Linked DNA regions of Homo sapiens: region 1 is linked to region 2. Evidence: promoter capture Hi-C in human tissues and cell types (Jung and others, 2019). All regions are on one chromosome and are shown on one strand. Each heading gives the region's core, a stretch centred on a gene start or on the middle of the fragment in contact. The rest is flanking DNA. Distances are from core to core; before and after follow the strand shown.

Region 1 (7,533 bases), core at 4,585-7,084, 290 kb after region 2:
CTGTGCACTTTGAGGTGGGCAGAATTACCTTTTAGTCTTTACAGAAGCAGTGTCTGCCACCTACAATGACTTCTCTTCTCATCTCTTCAGCACAGCCTTCTTTAAACCTTCTTTATAATCCTTCTCTGATCGCAGAGTGATAGCCGACCATGTTGCAGTGGGCCAGAGTTAGCTGTACCCTGCAGCTAAGCACACGGGCTCCGGAGCCAGCCTGCCTGGTTCAGATCCTGGCTCCCCCAAGTCTCAGCTGTGCAACCTGGGAGGCTAACTCTTCAGTTTCCTCCTTTGTAAAATGGGAATGATAACACCTTCCTTATAGCGTTGTCGCAAGGGCTTGCTGAGAACATACGTGTAAATCCTGTTGCATCTTGTGCCTGATCGATGCTTGCTAGATTTCCTTTTGCGCAGAGCATTTCCAATGGCAGGGGTCACTACTTTCAGGGCAGACTTTCCATTTATGAATGGTGTTAATTGAAGGAAGCCCTTGGGGTGTTTGGCTGAAAATTGTCTCACTGTGATTCAGGCAGCCATCAGGTCTGTGGAGGAGCTGTAGGTTTCCCCCACCTCCGGCTCCAACTGTCCATCATTCCTCCCCTCTCCTCCCCTCTATCACCCACGCCTCCTTGCTCCTTTCCAAATGGCGTGTGACTTCTCAGGGGATGTGAGAGGCGGCTGGAAAGTGACACCACACCCCTTAATTACCCTTGTTCTTTCTATGCCCCAGCACCTAAATTTAGCCAGCAGACCTGGGCACTGGGGACCCAGCTCCTCCCTCCCCAAGGCCCCACCCTCTCAAAGGCAGGAAAAGAGCCCCCAGGCACGACTTCTCACCATCCTGGGGGTGGAGGCCTCAGGGAAGTTGCTGAAAGGCCGGGCGAGGGCACTGGGCTCCAGCAGGGACCCTTCCTGCTGCAGCAGGCAGCTGGGCTGTGAGCTGTGATGGAGCAGAATGTCACCTGCCCACCCCCTGCCCTTTTTAATGATGGTGAAGCCTGAGAGGGAGGGTCGGTCAAAGTGTCCAGAATGTTAGGGGCATGAGCTCGAGAATCTGACAGACACCCTCTCTGACACATGCCAACTGTGTGACCTTGGGGAAGTCACCAGACTTCTCTGGACATGCTTCCTCATCTGAGAAATGGAGACCTCTCAAGTAAGGTGACTGTGACATTTAAATGAGATAATACATGTAAAGCATGCAGCACCAAGCAAGCACCAATCAGCTCAGCCACATCCATTATCAAAGTTGCTTGACCTGTTAGTGCAGTGGGGACCCAAGCCTCTGGACTCAGTGCTCATGCCAGGAAGTCACACTCCTTCATCAATGACTTGATGCCTCTGTTCCAGATGGGGACATTGAGGCAAAGACAGGTTAATTACCAGGACCAAGGTTACCCAGCTAGGTGGCAGCAAGGCTGAGATCTGATCCCAGGTCTGCAGGCATTCGTTGCCTTTCATGAATTGTTTTGGCCAAAAGGCCCCACCTCTTCCAAACCCGTCTCAAGGTCCACCACCTCCAGGAAGCCCTCCTGGCTGTCTCCAGGGCAGATCTCTCCAACCTCCCGGGCTGCAGAATGTCTATTCCAGACCATAACCTCCTCCCCAGCTCCTGGACAAGTTCTAGAAGGGAGGGCTTGCTTTTTACCTCTGTGAGTCTCTGAGGTTCCATGACGGAGTCCATAGGCATGAAAAATCACTCACTGATCTTTTTTTTTTTTTTTGAGATGGAGTCTCGCTCTGTTGCCCAGGCTGGAGTACAGTGGCACGAGCTTGGCTCACTGCAACCTCCACCTCCCAGGTTCAAGCAATCCTCCCACCTCAGCCTCCCCAGAAGCTGGGATTACAGGCATGCCACCATGTCCAGCTAATTTTTGTATTTTCAGTAGAGACAGGGTTTTGCCATGTTGGCCAGGCTGGTCTTGAACTCCTGACCTCAAGTGATCTGCCCGCCTCGGCCTCCCAAAGTGCTGGGATTACAGGGGTGAGCTTTCAGATACATAGAGAAAGGGAGAGCCAGCAAGTGGGAACAGAAAAGTTAGCTGGGATGGAAAATTAGACCTGGAAGGAAGGAAAGTGTGCATGGCTGGCTCTGTACCTGAGATGGGAGACAGTGGCTTCATCCCAGAGTGGGGATGCCAGGGATGTCCTGGTGAGGAATGGGGCCGCTCCAGGATCAGTCAGGCCTGGAATTGATACCGCCATGTCTGGGTCTCTGGGCCTTAGTCCCTCGTCTGCAGAATGGGGCAGTAAATGCCAGCCTCCTGGAGGTAGGTAGAGGGAGGCTTGAATGAGATGACCGAATGGGGACCAGCGTGCCCCACCCTGTGCCCTGCACAGTCAGCAGCCTCCAGCTTGGAGGGAGCTGGACAGAGCCTGAACCTCTCTGGTCACCTGAGGCAGCCACTCGGGCCCCTCTGCTTCGAGGGCTCTTCGGAGAGAGGAGCCTACGAGGAAGTTATGATGTGGCTTTACCACCCTCCCCCTCTTGGTCACACTGGAGTTCCAGGGCACAACCCCTTAGGGACACCAGCGGGGGTGGCCTGTGGCAGCCCCAACCTTCCCGCACCCAGCCCCTAGTCCACAGTGCCACCAATGCCAGGCTGTCATCAGGGCTCACCAGGCACACATGATCTCACTTAAACCTCCCAGGCAGGTGCTTGCGTCTTCCCATGCCACAAGTGAGGAAACAAAGAAACAGAGGGTTAAGGAACCTTCCAACAGTGCAGAGCTCAGATTCAGACTCAGGCAGTCTGGCCCCAAAGTCTGCACTCAAAACCACTACACTCCTCCACCTCCCTAAACAGGATGAGACCCTCTTCCCGGTGGGCTGGAGTGATTAGACAACTTTACAGGGGTGCGGAGTAATACTTCAAGGTGTGTGCTAGAGAGAGCATGTCTGGGGTGGCATTTCAGAAGTTAATTCCTCACTAGTTCTCTTCCCTGAGGGGGCTCACTGAGTTTGAGTTTATCTCTTGAAATACTGTAACAATCCAGGCACAGTGGCTCATGCCTGTAATCCCTGCACTTTGGGAGGCCAAGACAGGCGGATCACCTGAGGTTAGGAGTTCAAGACCAGCCTAGCCAACATGATGAAACCCTATCTCTACTAAAAATACAAAAAAATTAGCCAGATGTGGTGGTGGGCACCTGTAATCCCAGCTACCCGGGAGGCAGAGGCTGTAGTAAGCTGAGATTGTGCCACTGCACTCCAGCCTGGGCGACAGAGCGAGACTCCATCTCAAAAAAAAAAAAAAAAAAGAAATACTTTAACAATAATACTAACACTGATACTAATACTAACAGCTATCTTCTCTGAGCAGGTTTTATGCGCCACTCACCATCCTGAACTTTGACATGTGTTAATTCGTTTAATACTCATAACAGCCCTAGGAGGAAGGTATTATGAATTTTCTTGTTATCCAGATGAGGAAACTGAGGCTCAGAGAGGTCAAGTCACTGGGCAGCTCCCAGAGCTGGTGGTGGAGTCAAGATCAAACCCAGGCGGTTCTGGGTCCAATCATTCATTTGTCCCATGCTCTCTTAACCTCAAACTTGCCGCCTTTTCCTGCCTTGCCCGTGTGAATGTCCCCTCCCCCCAGGGTGTTGGAAAGTGAGTCCCACCAGGTATGGGGCAGGACCAGGAGGGACCTTACCAGCAACCGGGGTAAGGAGGAATGACCAAGGCATTCCAGCCCCAGCATGGGGGGGTAGGGTGTGGGCTTGGCCTTTGCAGTGTCAGGGATCTGGGCGGCCCCTCCTAGCTCACCTGCAGATCTCCCTCCGCAGGCAGGACTCCCATACCCTGGGAACACCACAAGCCGCTCCTGAAGGCAAACAGAAGACTCAGAGACAGAACAGCAGAGCCTGAGCCATAAGGTAGAGGGGAACATTTCCCAGCCACCTCCTGTTTTCAACACTGCTGGCCCTGGATCCAGTAAGTGGCATGACCATGCAGAGTGGTGCTTGGGCCCCTAACAACTGCTCCCTCAGTTCTGCACAGAGAAGGCTGTTCCCAGAAAGGGCTCCATTAAATCCTTAGCCAAGAGCCACATCTCCTCTGTTTCTGTCTCAGCCAAGGGGAGAGGGCACATGTTCAGTCCACTCCTAGGGTGCTGATCTTGTGGGGGCAGATGGTAGTGTCTTCAGTGAATGGCAGCTTCTTGTTCTTGTGTAGTTATCGTGGCCAAGATAAGACCACACAACCATGTGTTTTGGGAAAGGAGACAAAGAAGCGACCCAGGAATGCCAAAGGGGTCAAATAAAGTTTCTGGGGCTTCCGTGAGCCCATGGCTCTTGGGGCCCTGAGTCATGGGGTCCAGAAAACCAGGCCTGTCTGGATGGGGGGCCTGGCATGGGAATCACGTTCTCATAGGATGTTGCTTGTGATCTGCAACAAACACAGTGCATTTTCAAGCATCTTCCCGTATTGGGGCTGAGATAATGATATTCCAAAGTATGGTGCTGTGGCATGCTGAGTACTTTGAGCTAAAGGAGACTGGAAGGTCTCAGAAGCAGCCTCAGAAGCAGTATCTCTCTCTCTCTCTGACCTGTCCCCACTTTTCTCCCCCAAGGCAGCCATAGAAATGAGAATTCCTCTTCCGTAAGGTAGGTCATAGAAAGTAGAAATATTGGGAGCCGGATGTGGTGGCTCATGCCTGTAATCCCGGTACTTTGGGAAGCCGAGGCGGGTGGATGACGTGAGGTCAGGAGTTTGAGACCAGCCTGGCCACAGTGAAATCTGTGTCTACTAAAAATACAAAACTTAGCCAGATGTGGTGGCGTGTGCCTGTAGTCCCAGCTACTCAGGAGGCTGAAGCAGGAGAATCTCTTGAACCCAGGAGGCAGAGGTTGCAGTGAGCTGAGATCCAGCCTGACGTGAGGTCAGGAGTTTGAGACCAGCCTGGCTAACATGGTGAAGCTCCGTCTCTACTAAAAATACAAAAATTAGCCAGGCATGGTGGCGCACGCCTGCAGTCCCAGCTACTTGGGAGGCTGAGGTAGGAGAATCGCTTGAACCCAGGAGGTGAAGTTTGCAGTGAGCTGATATTGTGCCATTTCACTCCAGACTGGGTGACAGAGATTCTGTTTCAAGAAAAAAAAAAAAAGAAGAAGAAAAGAAAATAGAACTATTACTCTTACCTTCCCCTGCTTTTCTGTGTAGCAGCTGGCCATAAGGAAATTCTCTGACTCCACTTGGTCTGATAGTAGGCCGTAAGACCCTCGCTCCAGCGGGGTCCTGCTCCATACCCAGAAATAAGGAATATGGCAGACAGGCCAAGAAGAATGTACACACACAGGCCTCGCTGGGTTCCTTCCCTTGGCCTATTACCTTTAGGTCATACTCTTTTGTTCCAATCACTTTTTTTTTTTTTTTGAGACGGAGTCTCGCTCTGTCACCCAGGCTGGAGTGCAGTGGCGCAATCTCGGCTCACTGCAAGCTCCGCCTCCCGGGTTCACGCCATTCTCCTGCCTCAGCCTCTCCGAGTAGCTGGGACTACAGGTGCTCACCACCGCACCTAGCTAATTTTTTGTATTTTTAGTAGAGGTGGGGTTGCACCGTGGTCTCGATCCCCTGACCTCGTGATCCGTCTGCCTCGGCCTCCCAAAGTGCTGGGATTACAAGTGTGAGCCACCGCGCCCGGCCTCCAATCACTTTTTTCTTTAGATGGAGTTTCACTCTGTTGCCCAGGCTGGAGTGCAGTGGTGAGATCTCGGCTCACTACAACCTCCAACTCCTGGGTTCAAGTGATTTTTGTGCCTCAGCCTCTCAAATAGCTAGGATTACAGGTGCCCACCACCAAGTACAGATAATTTTTATATTTTTAGTAGAGATGGGGTTTGACCATGTTGGCCAGGCTGGTCTCGAACTCCTGATCTCAAGTAATCCACCCACCTTGGCCTCCCAAAGTGCTGGGATTACAGGTGTGAGCCACTGTGCCCAGCTGGTCCAATCACATTCCTATATGACTGTCCATTCTTCATCGAACCTTTGCATAAAAAGGTACTGTACAGTCTGGGTATTCATTTCTTTTCCTTTTTCTTTTTTTTGGTTTGTTTGTTTTGAGACACAGTCTTGCTCTGTTGCCCAGGCTGAATGAAGTGCAGTGGCATGATCTCAGCTCACTGCAACCTCCACCTCCTGAGTTCAAGCAATTCTAATGTCTCAAGCCTCTCGAGTAGCTGGAACTACAGGTGTGCACCACCATGCCCAGGTAATTTTTTGTATTTTTAGTAGAGACAGAGTTTCACCATGTTGGCCAGGCTGATCTTGAACTCCTGACCTCAAGTGATCCACCCACCTCGGCCTCGTAAAGTGTTGGGGTTATAGGCATGAGCCACCACGCCTGGCCTGGGTCTTCATTTCCAAAGGCCCCCATGTCATGTAAAACTTTGATTAAATACATTTGTTATGCTCTTCTCTTGTTAACTTCTCTCTGTCTTTTGGTATAGGAGTGTCAGCCGTGACCCTTATGATGGATGAGAAGAGGTATCATGCCTTTTCCACCCCTACACCTGGAAGGAAGGTTCTGCAGCAAGTTCATGAGAGACGATATGTGGAATGTAATCAGAGCATACCTCTTAATACTTAAAAGGTAAGGCCAGGCGCAGTGGCTCACGCCTGTAATCCGAGCACTTTGGGAGGCCGAGGTGGGCGGATCACGAGGTCAGGAAATTGACACCAGCCTGGCTAACATGGTGAAACCCTGTCTCTACTAAAAATACAAAAAATTAGCCGGGCGTGGTGGTGGGTGCCTGTAGTCCCAGCTGCTCAGGAGGCTGAGGCAGGAGAATCAGTTGAACCCAGGAGGCAGAGGTTGGAGAGAGCTGAGATCGTGCCACTGTACTCCAGCCTGGGCGACAGAGCAAGACTCCATCTCAAAAAAAAAAAAAAAAAAAAAAAGACGTATAAAATTCTGAGGTTCTTCTTTCGAGGCTAATTCCTTTCCTGTATGTGCTTAGGTTATGTTCATCTGAAGGAAAACTTAAGAAACTGTGTGGTAAACTATAATATAGAAGTTTATTTTTCTCTCGAGTAAACAATATTTGGAGGTTCTGGTCCAGGGCTGGTGTGGCAGCTCCACAAACATCAGAAACCCAGATCACTTCCTTCTTGTGGCTTGGTCATCCTTAACATGGGGCTTCTACCTCATGATCCAAGATAGCTGCTCCTGCTCGAGCAATCACATGCATATTCCTTTCCAGCAGAAAGGGAGAAGAGGTAACAGGGTGCAACCTGCTGCCTCTGAGTGGCACTTCTTCTTACAACTTATACACATGGCCATACCTGGCTGTAAGGGAGGCTGGGAAATGTAGCTTGTATTTCAGGGGGTTGTTTGCCCAGCAAAAATCAGGGGTTCCGTGGCAAAGAAGACAGAACAGATGTTGGGGAATAGTTATAGTCTCTGGCACACCATGGTATTCCTCCATTCCACGGGGAAAGATGGCCATGTACTTTCTGGTACTCTGCTCCAGGTGACCTTGTTCTTGTATGTTACATGTTCTTGTGTGTTACTCTTTTTTTTTTTGAGATGGGAT
Region 2 (7,824 bases), core at 257-2,756:
CGGGCCGAAGCCCCTCGGCGGTGACCACATAGATCTCTAATCTCGTGTTTTTGGCAATCAACAGGTTTAAGTCTTCGGCCGAAGTAAAGTGTCCTGAAAGAACAGACCCTCTAACTTTTGAACTCAGGGGAAGGGCCTCCCATCCCTTCAAAATAATCCTATCACTTATGTCTAAATACCTCCAGAATTCTCATTTACTTCACATACTTCTCCAACTCCCTCCAGCTACTCCCCTTCTTGCCAAATCCGGCACCTCAAAGAGTCTCAGTTCATGCATTCAACAAAGCTACTTCCCTAATCAGACTAAGAAAACTGGACTGGACCTAAGAGCCGTGTGTCCTCCAAATGACAATGACTGCGTAATCCCTTCTCATGCCTCTTGCCCCTCCAATTTTACTCTATTACAGTTACAGTGGCAGGCTCTAATTGAGAATGCCGGAGAAAGTGTTCACTTCTTCCAGTCTTCATCTAAAGTCTCACAAAACTTTTATCTGACAGACCAAGTCAAATGAAGAAGTCCCAGAGCTTTATATGAAAACACTGTTTTGTCCACACCCCCTGCCCTCCTGGCAGTCTACCAATACCTCCATCCACACTCAGCTACCTCCAACTCTGAACAACAGTTTTGTTTTGGAATCATGATTAGGGTGTATATAAACATGCAAGCTTGGGGTCTGCATATTCAGCTGAGAATGTGGGTTAAGATGACTCTTCCCGGGTTCTGAACATCGGTGTCCTTAACAATCCAAGCGCATCGTCAACAAGGCAAACCCAGCACTGGGCCAGGCAAACCAAACCCTCTTCTCCAGCAGGGCCCTCATGTAAACAACAGCCCCAGGCAAAGGGGTTAGCCTGAAGAGGGCTCCTCTCCCTCTGTGGGATAATGCGGGCATTCCTCACATCCCTCCACCTCCTGGGCCCCCCAGACTTCCCCACAGGAAAATCTTGACCCCAAAGTCGTCATTACCACCTCCCCTTTTCCTGGCCACAGAAAGCCAATCTCCGGGCCCAAACGACACCGCACAACCAACTCACACTCCTCTGTCTCACTGGGCCCGCCCTGTTCTCGAGGCCGAATGACCTCCCCAGGACGAAAGGGGACCCTCGAGAGCGGCTTCCAACCCCCAAAAAGCGCGTACAGGGACGACTCTTTCGAGGTCGCGGTGCTGGGGGAGGTTCCTCGGCCGCCAGCGCCTTCCATTCGCCGGGCCCACTCCTGCCCGGCCGCCCCCGGGGCGGCGGGCCTCCCTAGGCCGCGGCTCCCCCCAACTCCCTCACTCGCCGGGGTCTCCGGCCCCGGCAGCCTCACCGGTCACGCAGCCGTTCACGGCGGTGGGCTTCTGGGCCGTTACCACGTAGTTGTACGACATGTCGAGGCTTGGAGCGGCCCGTCGGGACTCGAGCGCGACACTAGAAAGAGGGACACAAGCGAAAAGACAGGTGGCCCCCAACAGCGCGCAGCGAACTCCACTGCCGCTGCCTCCGCCCCAGAGACACGTTGCAGGCCAGAGCGGCCGGGGCGCGGGGCATCACGGGACGGCCTCACCTGGCCTCTTGGAGGACTCCCGAAGCCCGAGGCCGCCAACCGAAGGAGGCCCCGCCCCCGGAGGCACCGCCTCGCCTCTTTCCGCCAGCGCCCGCAGGACCCGGATGAGAGCGCACGCTTCGGGGTCTCCGGGAAGTCGCGGCGCCTTCGGATGTGGCGGATGCGGCCGTGAGCCGGCGGGGGAGGTGCGCCAGTGTCCTCCGAGCTCGCCCGCAGACTCCCCACCCCGTTCCGCGCCCTTTGCCCTTCCCCGCATCCAGTCCTCCTTCCGTTGCTCCAGGAGCCCTCGGGCTGTTCCTCCTTTGGGAACGGGAAGGACTGCGGAGGCATAGAGAGGGAAGGGAGACCGCGATTCGTGCATATCCCAGACTAGAACCTTGCCTGCTTTCCTTTCACTGTCTCAGTTCCTCCAGATCCAGCTGGTGCCCTCGCCTGACGTTTGAACGACCACCTGCTCACCTCCTCCCTTTTGCGCGTTGATTCTTCAGACTTCAAAGGGCCCACCGGTCTGCTTGCCCAACGTTATTAGTGCCCCTATTGCTCTACAAATTCGAACCTCAAACACAAAACCAGTATTTCTCCGTAGGGAACCTTAATGAGCCAGGAGAGCCGTCAGCCCTGCAGCCTCCAGGGTACCCCACATCAAACAGGCTCCCCGGGAACAAGAGGAATACCACGTGGCTTGGCACACTCGCAGAATGCCAGAGAGGAGCCAACCCCCATTTTACAGATGAGGAAGCTGAGGCTTAGGGAGGAATTGGTTTACCTAAGACCCTCCCCACAACCCCAAGTAGGCTGAGGCAGAGCTATGTTGATTCTTCCTATTGTGCACCCACACAGAGGCCAACACGCTGCTGAACCAGGCTGAACTGAGGAAAAGCTAGAAAGTCATCGTGGTTTACATCTTGCCTTTCCCATAGCAGAGACTCTGCCTGACTTTGGAGGCACTGAATTATCAGTAGTAAAAACACACTCTGTAGAAAAACTAGACATTGGTTTAGATTCTGGCTGTTACCTGTATTACCTTGGACAAGTCCCTAGAGCTCTCTGAGTCTGTTTCCCAGAAGTAAAATGGGTCACAAACCTGGCTAGCTCCCCCCATTCCCTTCCCTTTTGGTGCCAAGGCCAGTGAGGGCAAGCGTGTGACGAGCTTTGTTAACTTTTTCGCTGCATGTGATGCCCGTGTAAAAGATAGTTATTCTGAGGATCACTGTCCTTTAGTGATGAAGTGGGTGCTGTTCCTGGACATAAAGGCAGACCTGTGCTTGACATGGATTGATCTGTCTTCTGGCAGTGAAGTGCAGGCATGAACCTTGGTCAGCCCCACACTCTTCTCCATCCGTAGCCCATGTACTAGAGTTTGGACTTGGACCGAAGTCTGGGGCAGCTCCCTAATTACTAGGGTGCTGAAGGCGTGATTGTGCCAGTCGACTGCGAGTTCCTTCCGCAGCTTGTATCGTTACCCACTCCTGCAGGTGCTGCTGCTGCCTCCACTGTACTCAGACCCAGGTAGCACAGGATTGTCCATCCTCCAGCAGCTCAGTGCAACGGTGTGAACTCAGCCTGTTTCAGAGCCTCCACACCATGGTGAGTCATACAGGGCCGGGACGGGAATGGCAGCATGGTCTCAAAGCAGGATCCCAGCCTTGGGCAAGCTAAAGCTCCTTACACTTTGACTGAGAGATGCTATTGCCTCCTGAGGCTCACGGGTGAAGAGAGAGGGTCATCCTCTCTCCCAGGGTCTGATCCCTGCTTTTCTTTGTTTCCTGGAGGCTGCTGGTCCCAGCCAGGCCTGGGGCTGCAGCCTCTTGAGTCCCTTCAGAGCCACTCTGCCCCTTATCTGGGTCTTGCATTCAGAGTAAAACAGTAACAGTTACCTGCTCTGTAATAGACATTGTACCGGTCACAGAAGGAATCGTGAAGAATGACCATGTGACCGTTCCTAACCTTGGGGCTTATGTGGGCCGGTCTGGAGCTGGGATCTACAGTGTGGGAGGCTGGCCATGTCCCTGGGCTTTGCTCCAGGCCCACTGATTTGAACCAAAACAAGCCTTGAACATATCTGGATTCAAATTTCAGCCTGCCACTGACCAGCTGCATGACCTTTTACAGACCTCTCTGCGCCTCTTTTTCTTCATCTGCATTATAAGGCAAATTAAGGCCTACCTCCAGTGGTTGTGTGGTGTTGATCAAGCAGAGTCCTGGAGGCCTCACTTGACTTCCTTTCCTTTTCCATCCTTTCAGGCCACTGAAACCAGGGATAGCACTGGTCCCTAAACCCTCTTCTGGCTCTGTAAAAGACAGATTATCATGATGGGGAGCAGGCCACTTTCTTGGAGGGTAGTGCTGCTGGAGGCTGGGCTTGGAGTGAGGCCAACTCACAACTTCATTGTGTGTTCCAGTCCCTGGTAGGCTCTGAGAGCCACAAACCCATGTCCTTTCTAGGGCAACCTCTGTCACCCTCCACTTCCCTCCAGCCCCTCGAGAAAGCAGCATGATATGGCCAAAAGGGAACCAGCTTTGGAGCCAGGCAGACCTGGACACCTGCTGGCTGTGTGACCTTGGGCAAAATAGTTTAACTGTGCCTCAGTTTCCTCACTGGGCTCATCTTTCCTCCATAGGGCTGTTGGGAAGTTTTGTTTTGTTTTAGTTTGGGTTTTTTTTTTTGAGACGGAGTTTTGCTCTTTTTGCCCAGGCTGGAGTGCAATGGCGCAATCTCGGCTCACCACAACCTCCGCCTCCCAGGTTCAAGCAATTCTCCTGCCTCAGCCTCCCGAGTAGCTGGAATTACAGGCATGTGCCACCACGCCCAGCTAATTTTGTATTTTTAGTAGAAATGGGGTTTCTCCATGTTGATCAGGCTAGTCTCGAACTCCCAACCTCAGGTGATCCACCCGCCTTGGCCTCCCAAAGTTCTGGGATTATAGGCATGAGCTACCACACCCGGCCTGTTGGGAAGATTAAATGAGACATGCTCAAAAACACTTAGAACTGGGCCTGGCTCTTAGTCACTGCTCAGCAAATGGAACCAATCTTATTGTTCTTCTTGCTCCCTACAGACCTAGGCTACTCTGAAGCAGGTGGCTTAGCCCTGGCCCTGGCTGGATGCAGGACAGGTTGGCAGGGAGGCAGCAGAGCCAAATTTTGTACAAAGGAGCTGGTGCTAGCAAGCTCAGGAAGAAGCCACAGCCGGAAGTTCACCTTGCCAGGACCTGGCTCAGCTGCAGGTTCCCACCGGGCCACCAGGTGGCGGTGGGAGCCCAGCCCTCTGAGTCCACGTTGGGCCCCAGTCTCACTCTGTCTTCAGGACAAAGCCAGGGGCTGCAGCCCTTGTTCAGCAGACTCTGGCTTTTCACAGCCTGTTTGAAAAAGGGAGTAGCTTCATTTGATTGAGTTTCCACTATATCATGGGCATATACTCTGTTCTAGTAAATCCCTATTTTACAGAGGAAGAATTTTAGCTCCCGACAATGATGTATCTTCCCTGAGTTCCTGCAGCTAATGAGAGGCAGAAGTGGGATTTGAACCCAAGTCCCTGTAACAGCAGAGCTCAAGCCACACTCCATTCTGGCCCCCACGCTACTCACTTCTGTCTGCACCCTGTATCCACTCAGCCAAGCCTGGCGGCACTGCTCTGTAACCCTCCACCAGCCTGTCCACAACCCCTCCTGAGGCTGCCTGTGGCCAGTCCTCTCCTCCCCACCCCTTCCTGCTGGTCACCCGTGCTTCCTGGCACCACCACACTATTCACTCATCCAGGCCTTGGCTTATGCTCCCCCTCTGGCTGGAAGAGCCTCCCTTTTCCCTCCTCCCATGTCTCCTGCCCCCTTTTTCCCTACCCCGGTCCTGCTTATCCTTCCCAGAGACCTCCAGGCCCCTCGGGAGGCTGCGGCCCCTCCTCTATGCTCCCATGGTGCACGTGCGCTCCTCGTGTAGCAGTGCCCACTACACATGGCTGTGACCTCTGCTGTGTTTCCACTGAGGGCAGGAACAGCATTGTTATCTCTTTTTTTATTTCCGAGATGGAGTCTCACTCTGTCACCTAGGCTGGAGTGCAGTGGCACGATGACAGCTTACTGCAGCCATGACCTCCCAGGTTCAAGTGATCCTCCCACCTCAGCCTTCCGACTAGTGGGACTCCAGGCATGCACCACCATGCCTGGATCATTTTTCATATTTTTTGTAGAGATGGAGTCTCATCATGTTGCCCAGGCCGGTCTCAAAGTCTTGGACTCAGGCGATCTGCCTGCCTCAGCCTCCCAAAGTGCTGGGATTACAGGCATGAGCCACTGCACCTGAGCTGTTATCTCTACACATAGTGTCTAGTGCTGGGCCTGGCATACCAAGAGGCTGGGGAAATGTTTGCCCCGCGTTGGAGCACCAGGGAGCAGCGGTGGCTGTGGAACCTGCTCAGCTCCTCCCCCAGCATAGGAGCCTCAGCCTGAGGCTTTTCTTCCTTTTGACAGAAGAAGGTGTTGGGCCCCAGTTTTATTAAAATATTTTACACTGCAGGCAACCACTCCCCCATTTTCTTTGTATTGCAGCCATTTTTTCAGAATAAATTGAAGGTATGGTGCAAGACACTTCATAAATTAGGTACTGAATAGAAAGTCACACATTACTGAAAACTCACAGAAATACCCACCTAAGATGTCGCCCAACTCAAGGAAGTCCTGTGCTCCTGGAGTTCCTAGGTGGATGCGGGAGAGGGGTCTACACCACAGCAGTGTGGCTGCGCAGGATGGGGGTATCTGTACTGACCACATTCTGACCTCCTTCTCACTCCTCCCTTGCAGACCTCCAAGAAGCTGGTGAACTCGGTGGCTGGCTGTGCTGATGACGCTCTTGCTGGCCTGGTGGCCTGCAACCCCAACCTGCAGCTCCTGCAGGGCCACCGCGTGGCCCTCCGTTCTGACCTGGACAGCCTCAAGGGCCGGGTGGCACTGCTGTCGGGTGGGGGCTCTGGCCATGAGCCTGCCCATGCTGGTGAGTATCCTGGGGTGGGGCAGGGGGTACTAGTGGAGTGGACAGGGCCTCCTGGGGGATCCTTAGTGCTGCCATGAAGTGCAGGATGGAGCTCAGCCCAGAATCAGGAACTGGGGTACTTCCCACTCTCCCACTCCCTCCGGCTGGGATCAGGGGCCCATCACGGCCTCTCTGAATCTGTTTCTACATCTACAAATCTACGAAGTTGGGCCAAACAATCTCTCAAGTCCTTCTAGCTCTGAGAGTCGGTGATTCCATGAATCTTCTGGACCCTCCAAGCCCAGCAGACCCACCCCGATTCCATGAAGGCTTCCTGACTCTTCCAGCCTACAGCAGCACCCCTCTTCTGAATTCCCACCTGCTGTGTCCCACTTGTGGACTGTCCTGGCTTCTTTCCTGTGTGGAGCCAGGGACGCAGACTCTCCTTGAGGGCTGCTGGAGGGCAGGGACTAGGATGCGCGTCATTTCTCTGCTTCCTGTCTTCCTTCAGCAAAATCCATTCATTTGGCAAACACTCATGAGCCCACTGTGTACCTGGCGCTGTACTGGGCACTAGGGATACCAGACAGGCAAGGTCCCTGCCCTCGTGGAGCTTATATTCTACTTAGGGGAGACAGACAATAACCAAGTAAACACGAAAGTAAATGAGATCATTTCAGAGGGTGCTAAGTGACTTAGTAAAGACAGTAAAATGGGGCAAAGGAACAGTGAGTCCCTGGGGAGGGAGCTGGTGACTGCTTCAGGCTGGGAGGTCACAGAAGGCCTCTCTAAGATGCCTCCTAAGAAGGAGTCAGCCATGTGAAGACCTGGGGGATCTTTGAGCACCAAGCACACAGTAGGGCTCACCAAACCATGACCCCCGGAGTGTGGGAAGCCCCAGTGACTACAGGCGCGAGTCCCACCCAGCATGCTCACTCCACTCCTTCCACCTCCAGGTTTCATAGGGAAGGGGATGCTGACTGGGGTCATCGCGGGAGCTGTGTTCACCTCCCCGGCAGTGGGCAGCATCCTGGCAGCCATCAGGGCCGTGGCCCAGGCCGGCACAGGTAAGCCTGGCATGCAGGAGGGGCTGCGGCAGGGAGGGCACAGTAAGCACACTGAGCCCTTCCGGCTGCTCCCGCAGTGGGGACGCTCCTTATCGTGAAGAACTACACTGGGGATCGGCTCAACTTCGGCCTGGCCCGGGAGCAGGCCCGGGCTGAAGGCATCCCGGTGGAGATGGTGGTGATTGGGGACGACAGCGCCTTCACTGTCCTGAAGAAGGCAGGCCGGCGGGGGCTGTGCGGCACGGT

What was found. The method cuts DNA at HindIII sites, captures the fragments that hold promoters and counts their contacts. A contact is called where the count stands out against the background at its distance.
Region 1: a fragment that was not itself captured here is called in contact with the fragment with the promoter of DDB1 in region 2 in 1 of the 25 tissues and cell types used here (aorta).

The regions. Positions count from the first base shown.
Region 1 is chr11:61,618,538-61,626,070 of GRCh38, forward strand. It overlaps the pseudogene RPLP0P2. Among named protein-coding and RNA genes, the nearest start is that of SYT7, 41 kb to the left of the region's middle. The HindIII fragment of the contact is 8,232 bases long and covers 1,719-7,533 here.
Region 2 is chr11:61,331,599-61,339,422 of GRCh38, forward strand. DDB1 (damage specific DNA binding protein 1) reads right to left here and starts at 1,507. Exons shown (of 27, transcript NM_001923.5): 1 at 1,310-1,507; 2 at 1-93. The coding sequence starts at 1,370. It overlaps TKFC (triokinase and FMN cyclase), which reads left to right and starts at 1,630. Exons shown (of 18, transcript NM_015533.4): 1 at 1,630-1,731; 2 at 3,022-3,133; 3 at 6,343-6,532; 4 at 7,468-7,578; 5 at 7,656-7,824. The coding sequence starts at 3,131. RefSeq lists enhancers at 1,069-1,591, 1,592-2,114 and a silencer at 1,510-1,769. The HindIII fragment of the contact is 10,331 bases long and covers 144-7,824 here.